Linked DNA regions of Homo sapiens: regions 2, 3, 4 and 5 are each linked to region 1. Evidence: promoter capture Hi-C in human tissues and cell types (Jung and others, 2019). All regions are on one chromosome and are shown on one strand. Each heading gives the region's core, a stretch centred on a gene start or on the middle of the fragment in contact. The rest is flanking DNA. Distances are from core to core; before and after follow the strand shown. Region 1 overlaps LOC101928391 (a long non-coding RNA gene). Region 2 holds the start of FAM76A (family with sequence similarity 76 member A). Region 3 holds the start of IFI6 (interferon alpha inducible protein 6). Region 4 holds the start of FGR (FGR proto-oncogene, Src family tyrosine kinase). Region 5 holds the start of AHDC1 (AT-hook DNA binding motif containing 1).

Evidence for each region. Contacts are between HindIII fragments. The study calls those that stand out against the background at their distance.
Region 2: the fragment with the promoter of FAM76A here is called in contact with a fragment that was not itself captured in region 1 in 2 of the 25 tissues and cell types used here (dorsolateral prefrontal cortex and lymphoblastoid cells).
Region 3: a contact is called between the fragment with the promoter of IFI6 here and a fragment that was not itself captured in region 1, in 2 of the 25 tissues and cell types used here (IMR-90 fibroblasts and dorsolateral prefrontal cortex).
Region 4: a contact is called between the fragment with the promoter of FGR here and a fragment that was not itself captured in region 1, in 4 of the 25 tissues and cell types used here (H1 embryonic stem cells, dorsolateral prefrontal cortex, lymphoblastoid cells and 1 more).
Region 5: a contact is called between the fragment with the promoter of AHDC1 here and a fragment that was not itself captured in region 1, in 6 of the 25 tissues and cell types used here (H1 embryonic stem cells, lymphoblastoid cells, mesenchymal stem cells and 3 more).

The regions. Positions count from the first base shown.
Region 1 is chr1:27,058,903-27,061,435 of GRCh38, forward strand. It overlaps LOC101928391 (a long non-coding RNA gene), which reads left to right. Exons shown (of 8, transcript XR_007065559.1): 7 at 1,112-1,178. Among named protein-coding and RNA genes, the nearest start is that of TENT5B, 47 kb to the left of the region's middle. RefSeq lists a silencer at 156-450. The HindIII fragment of the contact is 6,810 bases long and covers 1-2,533 here.
Region 2 is chr1:27,724,700-27,727,232 of GRCh38, forward strand. It overlaps FAM76A (family with sequence similarity 76 member A), which reads left to right and starts at 1,262. Exons shown (of 9, transcript NM_152660.3): 1 at 1,262-1,462. The coding sequence starts at 1,382. RefSeq lists silencers at 606-1,248, 1,087-1,786. The HindIII fragment of the contact is 12,090 bases long and covers 1-2,533 here.
Region 3 is chr1:27,670,929-27,673,461 of GRCh38, forward strand. It overlaps IFI6 (interferon alpha inducible protein 6), which reads right to left and starts at 1,264. Exons shown (of 5, transcript NM_002038.4): 1 at 1,195-1,264. RefSeq lists an enhancer at 1,296-1,635. The HindIII fragment of the contact is 16,144 bases long and covers 1-2,533 here.
Region 4 is chr1:27,633,910-27,636,442 of GRCh38, forward strand. It overlaps FGR (FGR proto-oncogene, Src family tyrosine kinase), which reads right to left and starts at 1,276. Exons shown (of 13, transcript NM_005248.3): 1 at 1,156-1,276. RefSeq lists a silencer at 352-401. The HindIII fragment of the contact is 29,896 bases long and covers 1-2,533 here.
Region 5 is chr1:27,602,873-27,605,405 of GRCh38, forward strand. AHDC1 (AT-hook DNA binding motif containing 1) reads right to left here and starts at 1,272. Exons shown (of 9, transcript NM_001371928.1): 1 at 1,234-1,272; 2 at 856-991; 3 at 525-622. RefSeq lists silencers at 447-526, 1,077-1,616. The HindIII fragment of the contact is 10,400 bases long and covers 1-2,533 here.

The DNA.
Region 1 (2,533 bases), core at 14-2,513:
TAGACTCCATCTCAGGACCAAGGTAGTGTAGACCCAAAGCCCGGCCCTATCCTGGCTCCCAAGCATCCCACAGCCTCTGGGGTAGAGGTGGTTAGAGGCACCAGCTCTAGACCTTGGCTGCCTTCTGTCTGCCCTCAGGGTCTGCTCAGATCAGGACACCCCCTCCCCCAGGCTGGGGCTCAGCCTCAGCATCCTTGGCAGGGCTCCCCACAGGGGCATTTCCACAACTTTCCAGCCCTGGCCTCCTGTTCAAGGGTTCGGCCTCAGGCAGGACTAGAGCTGAGTTGCAGAGGAGGAGGAGGAGCGGGGAGAGAGCCGAGTAGTTCAGGTTGCCGCAGGGGAGACAGGAGGGAGGAGAAGAGAAGGAGGGGAGGGAGCGAAGGTCCTCAGAACCCAAGTGCGGGGCAGCCTCAGGAAGGTGACTTCTGTTATTCTCCCTGTGTGCTGTGTCTTTAGGAAAATCCCCCTCACACGACAGCCCAACAGCCTTATACCCGCAGTTGCTCTGGGAGCAGGGGAAAATGTCCTGCAGTTCTTGCCCCTCATTTGGGTCAACTCCAGGACAGAAGTAAAGGCGACAGCTGCAAGGAATCAGCAGAAGCAGGACAGCAGCCATGAGCACATGAGCCCCCAGAGCTGGCAGAAACCTTGGAGGCTTTGTGTAGCTACAGTGATGGCCACGTCTGGGCTGGCACTCACCTTATGCCAGTCTCTAGGGAGGAGCCCGCATTTGCAGGCTGGGTTACATCTTTTCCCCTCTTCCACGCTGGGATTCTTTTTTTTTTTTTTTTTTTTTTTTGAGACAGAGTCTCGCTCTGTCGCCCAGGCTGGAGTGCAGTGGTGCGATCTCGGCTCACTGCAAACTCCGCCTCCCAGGTTCAAGCAATTCTCCTGCCTCAGCCTCCGGAGTAGCTGGGATTACAGGCACCCACCCCCATGCCCGGCTAATTTTTGTATTTTTAGTAGAGACAGGGTTTCGCCATGTTGGCCAAGCTAGTCTCAAACTCCTGACCTCAGGTGATCCGCCTGCCTTGGCCTCCCAAAGTGCGGGGATTACAAGCATGAGCCACCGTGCCCGGCCTGGAAATTGTTTTTTTTTTTAAACCCTCAGGTGATTCTGACTCTCCTGGAACCTGAGAACCACCAGTCTACGGGAACAGAGCCCTGCTTTGGGTCAGGTGTGTATAACTATGGTATTCCCTTTCTTCTCTGCCTCTATTGTTGATGTTGTTTTTTTGTTTTTTGTTTTTTTTTGAAACGGAGTCTCGCTGTTGCCCAGGCTGGAGTGCAGTGGCGCAATCTCGGCTCACTACAATCTCCGCCTCTGGGGTTCACGCCATTCTCCTGCCTCAGCCTCCCGAGTAGCTGGTAAGGGAGGAGACCACCCCTCACATTGTCTTATGCCCAATTTCTGCCTCCAAAGAAAGAAGTAAAAACTAAAAGGCAGAAATGAAATCCACAGGCAGACAGCCCGGCGCTGCACCCTGGGCCTGGTAGTTAAAGATCGACCCCTGACCTAATCAGTTATGTTGTCTATAGATTACAGACATTGTATAGAAATGCACTGTGAAAATCCCTATCTGTTTTGTTCCGATCTAGTTACCAGTGCATGCAGACCCCAGTCACGTACCCCTTGCTTGCTCAATCAATCCCGACCCCCTCACACGCACCCTCCTTAGAGTTGTGAGCCCTTAAAAGGGATAGGAATTGCTCACTCGGGGAGCTCGGCTCTCGAGACAGGAGTCTTGCCGATGCCCCCAGCCGATTAAACCCCTTCCTTCAACTCGGTGTCTGAGGAGTTTTGTCTGCAGCTCGTCCTGCTACACTGGGACTACAGGCGCTCGCCACCACGCCCGGCTAATTTTTTATATTTTTTAGTAGAGGCAGGGTTTCACCGTGTTAGCCAGGATGGTCTCGATTGCCTGACCTCATGATCCGCCTGCCTTGGCCTCCCAAAGTGTTGGGATTACAGGCGTGAGCCACCGCGCCCGGCCCCACTCTCTACCTCTGTTTGTTTAGGGGCAGGCATAGAATCCCATTCTAGTCAATGAGACAGAAAGGGGTTCTGGAAAGTTCCCCCACCCCCTTATAAAACAAGGAGGACGTCTTCAAGGAGGACGTCTGAGGAGAAGCTTTGCCGTGGCCTTTTGCCTTTGGATGCTGCCAGAGGGGTTAGAAGGCGGAGCTCCACAGTCAGGCAGCTGGGGTGTGTATCCTAGCGGGGAGAGCAAGAGACAGTGGGACAAAAATAATAACAGTAATAGCAGCAATGCTTCTTGAGGACTTTCCGCATGGCAGGCCCTATTCTAAGCACCTCATGTAGCATATTTTACCCTCAAACAGTCCTGAGGTAGGTTCTGTTATTGCGATTTTATAAATGAGGAAACTGAAGCACAGACAAGTTTAAATAACTCGTTCAAAGTCATACAGCTCATACATGGAGGCCAGCATGCAGGCCAGGTGTGTGGGGTATGGGCATTGCGGGCTACTTTAGGGACCCTGACCTTTTCCTCAGCATAGTGGGAAGCTGGTG
Region 2 (2,533 bases), core at 12-2,511, 670 kb after region 1:
AGAAGTTCAGTGATAGATCCAAGGTCATGTAGTTAGTTGTGGAACAGTGATTTGGAAACTTTGCTTTCTGATCCTAATGATTAATGCACATCTTTGGGGGATCCTACAAGGAAGCAGCCAGATTTGGGTTCAGAGAGAGTAAATTTTTTTTGTTGAGGCAGGGAAATAGAAGCCATTAAGTCAGTTTTTAATTGTAAAAAGCGCACGTTGAGGTAAAACTGCAATTAGTCCTGTACGGGTGGTTGGCAGAGCCAAGAGTAACCTATGCCCAAGAGCAGCTACAAGGCAGGACTTGGATAGGTCAGCAGTGCAGGAAGCTTTGCCAACACCTCAAGAACAAGAAGTCTGTCATTCCTTGGGCAGCTCCTATACATGCCAAGCTGGAGCCAAAGAGAGGCAGGGGAGCCCGGAGGGCGTGGCTTGCCTTCCGGAAGTCAGGCCTCGTCAGGAATCACCAGGTGGTTGCTTGCGAGAGAAGCTGGGGGTGAAACCGGAGAAAACAAAGTAGGAAGCAGGTCTGGGCCAATTGCAGCCCACTCTGATGGGGGCCTGCAGGCCACCGGACGCCTGAATATCTGTCCAATCCCTCCTGGAAGGACTGCCATCTCTTTAGTCCCTCTTCCGCAGCATAGGGGTGCTCTCTCTGGGGCTCTCCTTTTCTCTCCTAAGGCCCACAGCCCCACAGTTCCCTATTTAGGTGTCTTAAATTGAGGACACACTTCTAAATTGTCCCTCAGAGTCTCGTCTCCTCCTTTGAGCGAGGCTGGGCGGGCTCCTCCTGCTCCGATTATGAGGAACTTCTTTCCCAAGCTCCCCACCTTCTTTGGGCTTGGACGGCTGCAGAGTTCCAGTTAACTGTGCGCCGCCTTCGTTCCAATTGTACCCCTCGTGCTCCCAGAGGGCAGCTCCATGGAAACCAAAACATCACAAATCCCCGAAGGTATCGCGAGAAGCGCAGATGCGCCTGAGGCCGTGGAGAGGCGGAGCGAGGGCGGGAACGCTGAGCAAGTAGGGCGGAGCCTAAGCTCTTCCGAGGTCCCGGCCGGGAGCCTGTCCCCTCCAGGTGGCGCCCCCGCGTGACTGCGCTTTACATAATCGCGGCCTGGAGCGTCACAGTGGCGTACTCCAGGCCAGACCGAATCAGAGTGGGCGAAAGCTCCGTGTTCCGCCCCTTCCCACTTGATCGACGTCAAAGCCCACCAGTGAGCGGGCGTCTAGAGTCGCCGTGCCCGCCCCAGCCCGCCCGGGTCCGCCCCGACCCGCCTGCGCCCGCCCGCCTGCCGCAGCCAGCAGCCTGCAGCCGCCGCCGGGTTGTGCCTCAGACTGTCAGATAAATCGGCGGGCCGGGCCGGCGGGTCGGTGAGCGCGGCCCGGGCCGGACATGGCGGCGCTCTACGCCTGCACCAAGTGCCACCAGCGCTTCCCCTTCGAGGCGCTGTCTCAGGGGCAGCAGCTGTGCAAGGTGCGCGGGCTGGGGCGGCGGCCGGGAACTGGGGACGCAGGAGGCGCGGCCCGGAGCTCCAGATTCTGTGGGGACGCCCGGCGGGGTCCCCGGAGCAGGGTGTGGCAGGCCCGCCAGGCTGAGGAGCCGCACCCACCCCGCTGGGGGCCGGCGGGGCACGTGCGGGAGCCGGGACCCGGTCCAGGCTCCCGCGGCCGGCGTGTCCGGGTGCTTAGCAACCGTGGGGATTGTTCTCGGACCCCGTGAGGTCGGGGGAGGGACAGCGGGTCCCCTGCTTGCCCTGACTGGTCGCCTTCGGGATCCCTTTGCGCTGCCTCCCCCGCCGCCGCGGTCTCCCTGGTGGGGACCTCCTGCCCCTCCTGGGACTGAACTCCAAAGTTGGGTGCTGCCTTGGAGGAATGTGTCGAACTCGGGCTCCTCACGGGCACTTTTCGACCAGTTTCAGAATCGGAGGTAGCAAGGCTTGATTTTTTTTTTTTTTTTAAGCATCTCACTTTTCGGCCAGTCTCAGAATCGGAGGCAGCAAGGCTTTATGTTTTAAAAAAGCCCCACAGTCAGGCTCACAGATCCGAGGGATCACTTCTCAGCATCCAGTTGGTGGTCTTCGGTCTTCCCTGACTAGCTGCTGATCAGTTTTTGCTCCTGAAGGTCCAACTTCTCTTTTTCTTTTAAGTTGCTTTATCCCACTTTTACTTTTTAAGTGACTAGAGGTGCTGTGAGGCAACAGTTAAAAAGTCACCAAACTGGCTGAAGAATAATGTTGAGGTTATCCAATAATCCAGTTTGTGTCTCTGATTTGGATAACTCATAATTGTCACTTTTGCCTCAGATGGTCATGACTTTCCATTTGCCAGTTTTTATATACCAGGTCTGGGGGAATGCAAGTGCTTGAGTGCCCTTTTTGGCCTCAAAATATGTATATATGATTTTAAGGAAGTTATGTATATATAAATAATAATTTTAATCCAGCACTTTCATTTCACAAGTAAACCGCAAAATCACACAGTGGCAGAAGAACCAGGCCTGGAATTCAGGGCTTCTGATTCCCAGTCTGGGACTTGTTCATATATA
Region 3 (2,533 bases), core at 14-2,513, 610 kb after region 1:
GGAGTTGTATGCCAGGAACTGGGGGATGAAAAAATATATTTTACAATATCACAAGGGATAAAGGTCACACAGCAAATTGTGCAACATGGGTACACATTCAAGACAGTCAGAATTCATGAACCTATGCTCTTTCCTTTATACCACAAAACTGGAAAATGCATATGCCCTCAGACTCACCTCTAATATGATCTTTGTCAGATCAATGCTATTTTCTTAAGTTAAAAAGAAAAACAAGAAACTCCTCTCATGTATTGAGTACTTAGCACTTTATGGCACGCAGTCCACTTGTACCTATAACAACACCACGAAGTAGGTACCATTGTTATCAACCACATGTTATAGATAAGGAAACTGAAGCTCAGAGAGGTTAAGTAATATTCCCAAGGCTGCCTAGCCAGGTCATGGCAAAGTCAGGGTTTAAACCCACAATTGGCTAATACCCAAGCCCACATTTTTTTTTTTTTTTTTTTGAGATGGAGTCTTTCTCTGTCGCCCAGGCTGGAGTGCAGTGGCGCAATCTCATCTCACTGCAAGCTCCACCTCCCAGGTTCATGCCATTCTCCTGCCTGCCTCAGCCTCCCGAGTAGCTGAGACTACAGGCGCCCACCACCAAGCCCGGCTAATTTTTTTTGTATTTTTAGTAGAGACAGGGTTTCACTGTGTTAGCCAGGATGGTCTCGATCTCCTGACCTCGTGATCCGTGGGTCTCGGCCTCCCAAAGTGCTGGGATTACAGGCGTGAACCACCACGCCCGGCCACCAAGCCCACATTTTTAACAACCACTCCAGATGGCTTCATCTATCCTTAAAGATGAACTCACTGTCACATTGGATCCTATAATAAAGGGGATTCTAAAATCATCCAGTCCTTTGAGCAGCAAAGGCAACTTAACTTTCCTTTTACAGAGGAAGTAATTAAGGCTCCAAGAGGTGACAGTGTTAAGGCCACAGATCGCTGATATTGCACCTGTAAGCTGGGTCTCATGCCACTTGGGGTTTTGCATCCCATCTCCCTAAAAATCTCCAACCCATCCTCTTAGACAAGTCCCAGCCCAGAGCACTAAAAGGGACCCAGGAGTGCTGCCTCCCAGGAGAAGGGGCCTCCTGGCTCTCAGAACATGAGATTTACAGGCAGACAGGCAGCCTGGCAGAGGGTGGCAGCTTGATGCCCACACTTCATAGCTCCTGAGTTTACCTTGGAGGAGAGAAGAGAAGCAATCTTCAGCCCGGAGCCTGCTGATAGATGGGCACAGCAGCGAGTAAACGGTTCTCCGGCTGAAGGCTGGCTTTTTATCATCACTTGTGGATCCTCCCACGTCTCACCCTAGGCAGCCAATCCCTGTCGGAGTTTCTATTTCTGCACTCTGCAGTTTCATTTTCCCCTCTCTCCCAGCTCCTGCACTCTGCAGAGTTTCATTTTCCCCTCTCTCCCAGCTCCGCCCAGCGGGAACATTTGTGTGCTGCCTGCTGGCAGAAAAATGCACTTCAAGCTGAGGACTTTTGGAGCCGCTAAGGGTATTCAAAGCATGTCACACTATGATGAGAGCCACGGCCATACTGGGCTTAGTGAAGCCTGATCACCAGCTCCCCCTGGGGCACACAGGCCTTTCACCATTCAGTCCAATTAGTAAACAACACCTATCATTTATTGAGCACTTGCTGCATGCCAGGGTCTGTGCAAAGTGCTCTATTTACATGATCTTTTTCCAATCCCACAGTAGTCATGTGACATACCATATGCTGTTTATAAACCCCCAGAACTTTGGAAATTAAGTCACTTTGTTCCATTGTTCTCTCAGGCTGGCTGCTTCTGGGTCATGGGCATATGGTAAGACCAGTGAAGCCTGTGTTCATGTGGCCATCATGATAGATCTTGAGTTTCAAGATGGGTCCCCTGGCCCTAGGTAATGAACTGAGCATTCTTTAAAGCCTTTGGATGGTGATGCTTGAAGTGCTATGGGTCAGAAATGCAACCTCTATTTGGAGAACATAGAAATTCCAGTAAGGATGAATCATTGCCTTCTCCCAAGTGGAAGGGGTCTGAAATAATTGACCTGCCACCAGATGGCTGGCTATTCTCATTGAGAAATTTTGCCATATTGCTACCTGCTGCTGGCAGATTGGCTATATTTTGGCAATTGCCAGATCAGTTTTGGTGAGAGGGAGCCCAAGTTGTTGGACTCATTTCTAACCCCCATCCTTACCACCTTGGACACTCATAGGTCTATTGCAAGGCAATAGTGAGGCTAAGTTTAGAGGCTGGCTGACATCCACAGGATGGGACATCCTGGCCATTGGGCTGTAGAGCCTCCTCTGCAGCAGATGATCTCTGGTCAGCATTAACATGAGACATAGAGATCCAGGTGCTTTATGCCCATTCAGAGTTCATTCTTATGCCCCTAACCCACACCTGCTTATTCCCAATCTTCCAATCTTGTTCCATCCATGCCTTTGACCAACCAGCCAAGCCATTTGCCTCTTATTAGGAATTGGTGTATGTCTGTACTTCAGTCCATCTCTCTCTCTCTCTCTCT
Region 4 (2,533 bases), core at 26-2,525, 580 kb after region 1:
TTTCTCACCATAGTTCAGATGAGGAAAGTGAGGCCCAGAGAAGCCCTGTAACTTGCCCACAGTCACACAGCAATTAAGGGCCCAGTCTTGCTAAGAACCCAGGTCTCTCAAACAGCAGATCCTCCACCCCAGGATCCCTGAACACAGCGGCATCGCCTCCTACCTCGGTCGGGAAGCCCACCCCCCACCCACCAGACCGAGGATTCCAAAAGGGGGCGAAGGCGGAGAGCAAAGGGGGCTGCGCCCACCCGGAGCCCCGCGGCGGCCCAGCGCGGCCCGCCCTCTCGTTGCCTTGGAGGCAGCCCCTGCGGGCACTCGCGGTCAAAGGCAGGATTTCCGTCGGGGCGGCAGCAATTCCCGGATCCAGCGGGGAGCGCGGGCCGAGACCGCCGCGGGCGCGGAGGGGGCGCCCGGAGAGGCCTGTCCCTGCCGAGGGCGGGGACTTCCCCAGGAAGCGGGGACCCACGCCTCGCGCGCCCGGCAGGAGTCCCCTGCAGCCCGGAACCTACCGCAAGGGCGGGCCGAGAGGGTCGCGGGGCCGCGGTCGCGGCCGCTAACGTTACCCTGCGGGCTGTGGGCTTCACCCCGACTTCGGCCGGCTCGGAAGAGGGGAACTTCCTGGACCCGCAATTGCACCCCAGGTTCTCCGTCCTCCAGAAGTCGTTCTCCTCAACCCCCTTCCCGCCAGCTCCCTCTCCTGTTCCCTCCAGCACCCCCACCCATTTCCCCTCTCCTGGACCCATCAGACCCGTCGGCTTCTCCCCAAAGTCCCACTCTCACGATCCCTTCAGTTTCTCCCCCAGACCGTCCTGGGGATTCCCCTTAATCCTTCTCCCCCACCTCAGCCCCCTTCCTAAACTCTTATCAGTCCCCTCCATTTTACCCACTAGACCTTTTTGGGGGTCCCTTTGGTCGGCTTCCCCCGTGCTCCCCTCCGCCCTCTCCTCCAGGTTTATCAGCCTTGCTTTTCAGGTCGCCCGTTTTCCTCCTTAGGCCTTTTCGGGCTGGGGTCCCTTTGGCTGTCACCTTGCTCATGTGTCCCCCGACCCCCAGGTTCAGGCTTCTCTTCCCGTGTACCCCCAGTCCTCTCTCCAGAGCCTCGAGGGGGAGGGCACTGCTTGACCTGCCCAGTCCCCACCCGACGCTGTCGCTTACCTGGAGCCCAATTCTGCCCGGCCCCGGGGTGAGCCAGCCGGGGCTCCAGCAGCCGCGAGTGCCGGCGTGCGGGGAGAACTGGGGTGCTGCCCGCCTCTGACCGCCGCCCCTGCTGGGCAGGGAGGAGGAAGCCGCCTCGGACTTCTCTTATTGCAGTCACGGCCGGCGGGCGGTGATGGTGGCAGGGAGACAGTCACGCCCTAGCCCCAAGCCAGCTCCCCGCAGCGAGGAGGCGCCCCCAGATCCTAGGCCCACCCGCCCCCACCTTCCTCCTCCCTGGTTTACGGGAGGTCGGCTCTGTCACCCTCCAGACCTGAGTCCCCAGCCCGGCCTTCCCAAAAGCCCCCTCCAAAAGCGCAGTTTCAGCACCCCCGAAGCACCTGCTCTTTTAGGATCATTGAATTGGAGGTTAAGAGGGGCTTTTCTCCATCACTGAGGACCAGATCGGGACTGGCCTTACTCGAGTTCTCACAGCCAGTTGACTTCAGACTGCTGTCACCAGAGCCACTGGACATGGATCACATGGACCCTGTCAGCACGCCTTCCCTTCCTCAGGGGCTGAGCACTGGGGACACAGGGCTGTTAAGGGTGGTGAGCAGCAGAAGACCCTTCCCTTAGGAAACTGCCTTTCAGAGGAGTGGGAAGGGTGTCAGCCTCCCCCAGGCACCCAAGTTTTAGAAAAACTGAGTAACTGGCTGGGGGCAGTGGCTCAGCCTGTAATCCCAGCACTTTGGGAGGTTGGGTGGGAGGATTGCTTGAGCCCAGGAATTCCAGACCAGCCTAGGCAGCATAGGGAGACACCATCTCTACCAAAAAAAATTTTTCTTAAGTTAGCTCGGTGTGGTGGTGTGCACCTGTGGTCCCAGCTACTGCAGAGGCAGAGGTGGAAGGATCCCTCGAGTCAGGCAGGTCGAGGCTGCAGTGAGCTGTGATTGAGCTACTGCACTCTACCTTGGGTGACAGAGCAAGACCCTGCCTTAAAAAAAAAAAACACAAAAAAAGAATGTGGGTTTTGTTGCAGAAAATGACTTTTTTTAAAAAAAAGAAAGAAAAGGCCGGGTGCAGCGGCTCACGCCTGTAATCCCAGCACTTTGGGAGGCCGAGGCGGGTGGATCACGATGTTAGGAGATCAAGACCGTCCTGGCTAACACAGTGAAAGCCCATCTCTACTAAAAATCAAAAAATTAGCCGGGCGTGGTGGCGGGCGCCTGTAGTCTCAGCTACTCAGGAGGCTGAGGCAGGAGAATGGTGTGAACCCGGGAGGCGGAGCTTGCAGTGAGCCGAGATGGCGCCACTGCACTCCAGCCTGGGCGACAGAGCGAGACTCCGTCTCAAGAAAAAAAAAAAAAAAAAAAAAAAGGAAGAAAAACTGAGTATC
Region 5 (2,533 bases), core at 22-2,521, 540 kb after region 1:
CCTAGGGATTTGGGGGTTGGAGGGGAGGGGCTCCTCCCTCCGCAGTCTCCCCTTTTCCCAGCGCCGATCCTAAAATCCAGCCTTGTTCTCCGCTCCCACGGTCCCCCCTTCATTCCCCCCCCCCCCACATTCTCAGCAAGCTGGAGAGCAAATTGCAGTTTTAAATCCAAAGGCGGAGGGAGGGGGAAGGAGGAGGGGGCGCGCGGCAGCGCTGGGCGCGCACCTCGCCCCCGAGCCGGGGGAGCCGCGGGGCGGCCAGGAAACCCGAGAACCCCCCCTCCCCGCCCCCCCTCCCCGTCCACCTCCCCCTCCCCCTTCCCGGCGCTGCCTGCCAGGCTTCGAGCCGAGCCCAGCCGAGCCGCGGGCCCCGGTGGAAACAAAGACCGATCGCACCGCGGGCACCGCAGCCACCGGGTCCAGCGGACCGGACCGGGGGACGCAGGCCCCCCCCGTGCGCTGCACAAAAGAGCCTGGCCGGCCGGTCCCCAGCGGGGGTCTGGGGCTGGGGAGGAGGCGCCACTCACCGGAGTGCTGGGCTGCCGGCTCCGTGGGTCCGAGCCAGGCGAGGGGTTTTGGGGGACGTCTGTCTTCCGGCGGTGGCAGCGACGCGGGCGCCCGGCTGCTGAGGAGAGGAGTCGTGGAGGAGCCCTGAGCCGCCCGCCGTCGCTGACAGCATGGCTCGCGCCTCGGCTCACATTCTCCGCCGCTAACTCCGCTGGACACGGCCCCCCGCTCCCGCGGCGCCCCCCCACCTCGATCACTCCTTCGCTCTCTCTGCGCCCCCCTCGCCCTCCCGCCGCGCACACACTCTCCCAGCCCTGGACACCCCCGCCCCCACCCCCCCCAATAGCAAACCTGGGAGGGAACGCGCCCCGCGTAGTCCTCCTGCTCCTCCTCCTCCGCCCTCCTCCCTCCCGCTCTCTCTGGCTGTCTGTCTGTCTCTCAGACTGTCTCTATTTCTCGCTCTCTCTGCCTTTCTCTGCTCTCCAAGCTGGGTGGGAAAAGGAAATGAGGACAGAAAGCAGACGCTGGCTTTGGGTGGTGGTAGCTGGATTCCCTCTCTCCCTCCCTCCCCCTCCTCCCCTCCCTCCTCCTGCCTTCTGCTCTCTCCGCTGCGAGCGGGGCTGAGCGCAGCCTGGCGGGTGGCTCGCTCTGCCCGCCCGCCCGCCTGTCTGTCTGTCTGGTCCGCCTCGCTCGCTCCCTCCCTCCGTCTCTCGCCCTCGCCCTGCCTGCCTGCCTCTCTCCGTCTCCGCCGCCGCCGCCGCTGCCTCTGCGAGCTCGCCTTACCTTCGCCGCTCACCATCCGGAACCCCAGGGGGGAGCGCGCGCGCGGCACGCCGGGACTTGTAGTCCCCGCCCCGGCCGCTCCGCGCGCGGGGAGGGCGGGGCCGCGCCGGCTGCTCCGACGGCGCGGCCAGGAGCCCCGGGGACCCCGCGCCTGGGGCTCGTCTGGCTGGAGCGCGTCCTCGTTTACCAACGGGCGAAGATCCTCCCCAAGGGTTAAGAATGGTCCCTGTGTTCCTTGTCTCCACCGGGGGGCTCTGGATCGAGCGGAGGTTGCGGGTGGGAGTGAAGGGGCGGGGTCTGAGAGTGGAATGGGAGTGGAATAGGGAACCAGGGGATTAGCCAAAGGGGCTGCGACTTTCTGGGGCGTCCCAATTAAATGGGAGGGGGAGAGGGCAGAGGAGAGGACCGGCTCTCTCAATCTGGGGACGTTATCCTTTTCTGAAAAGGTTTCTTATTGAGTAAAGCTCAAGTATATATGGCGGGAGGGCTGCTGGGGCGGGGGAGCGGGGGAGACCCAGCCAGCGCTGCTTCCTCACTCAGTGACCCCTCCTCTCAAACTCCGACCTCGGTTTCGCCCTTGCAACTCCCAGCTTTCCTATATGTCCAAGGGCGGCGAGGGCTCAAAAGTCCTGGATAATCCGCAGATAGAACACACACACCCTTTTCCGAATTCTGCTGAGCATTTGCGTTGTGTCAGGAAGCAGGATTCAGATTGAACGGTGCTGACCTCCTGCCGCGGCCGGGGGCTGGGCTCAGCACTTTCACCTACCTCCTCTTCAGGTCACATGTGTTCTCCAGCCCCTGCCTAGCCTATCCCACAGATGGGAATGTGCGCTGCTTGGGGGCCTTGTTACCGCCCCCGGAGATGGCTGAACTGCTGCGGTAAAATAGTGCTGTTATTTCCATTTTAGAGATGGGGGCACTGAGGTCCAGGTTCTCCAGTTAGCAAGTGGCTGAACCCAGCTGGATTTGAACCAGGGTCTGACTAACTCCAAACCCCACAAGCTTAACCCCTGGGCTATGACAAGGAGTTGTGACTCCCTCCATTTCTGTAACTGACCTTCTCTCCCTGTGTCTGTGTGTCCTTTCTTGGCACTTCAACAAATGTTAACTGAGGTATGCAGGGCTTGCAAGGGACACGGAGATGAATAATGCATAGTGGCTGTCGTGTCCTGTGTCCTAGGTGTCTACCAACGCCGGCCCTGACTGGCCCTGCGGCGGTCCCACCTCACTGGACCACCTCATC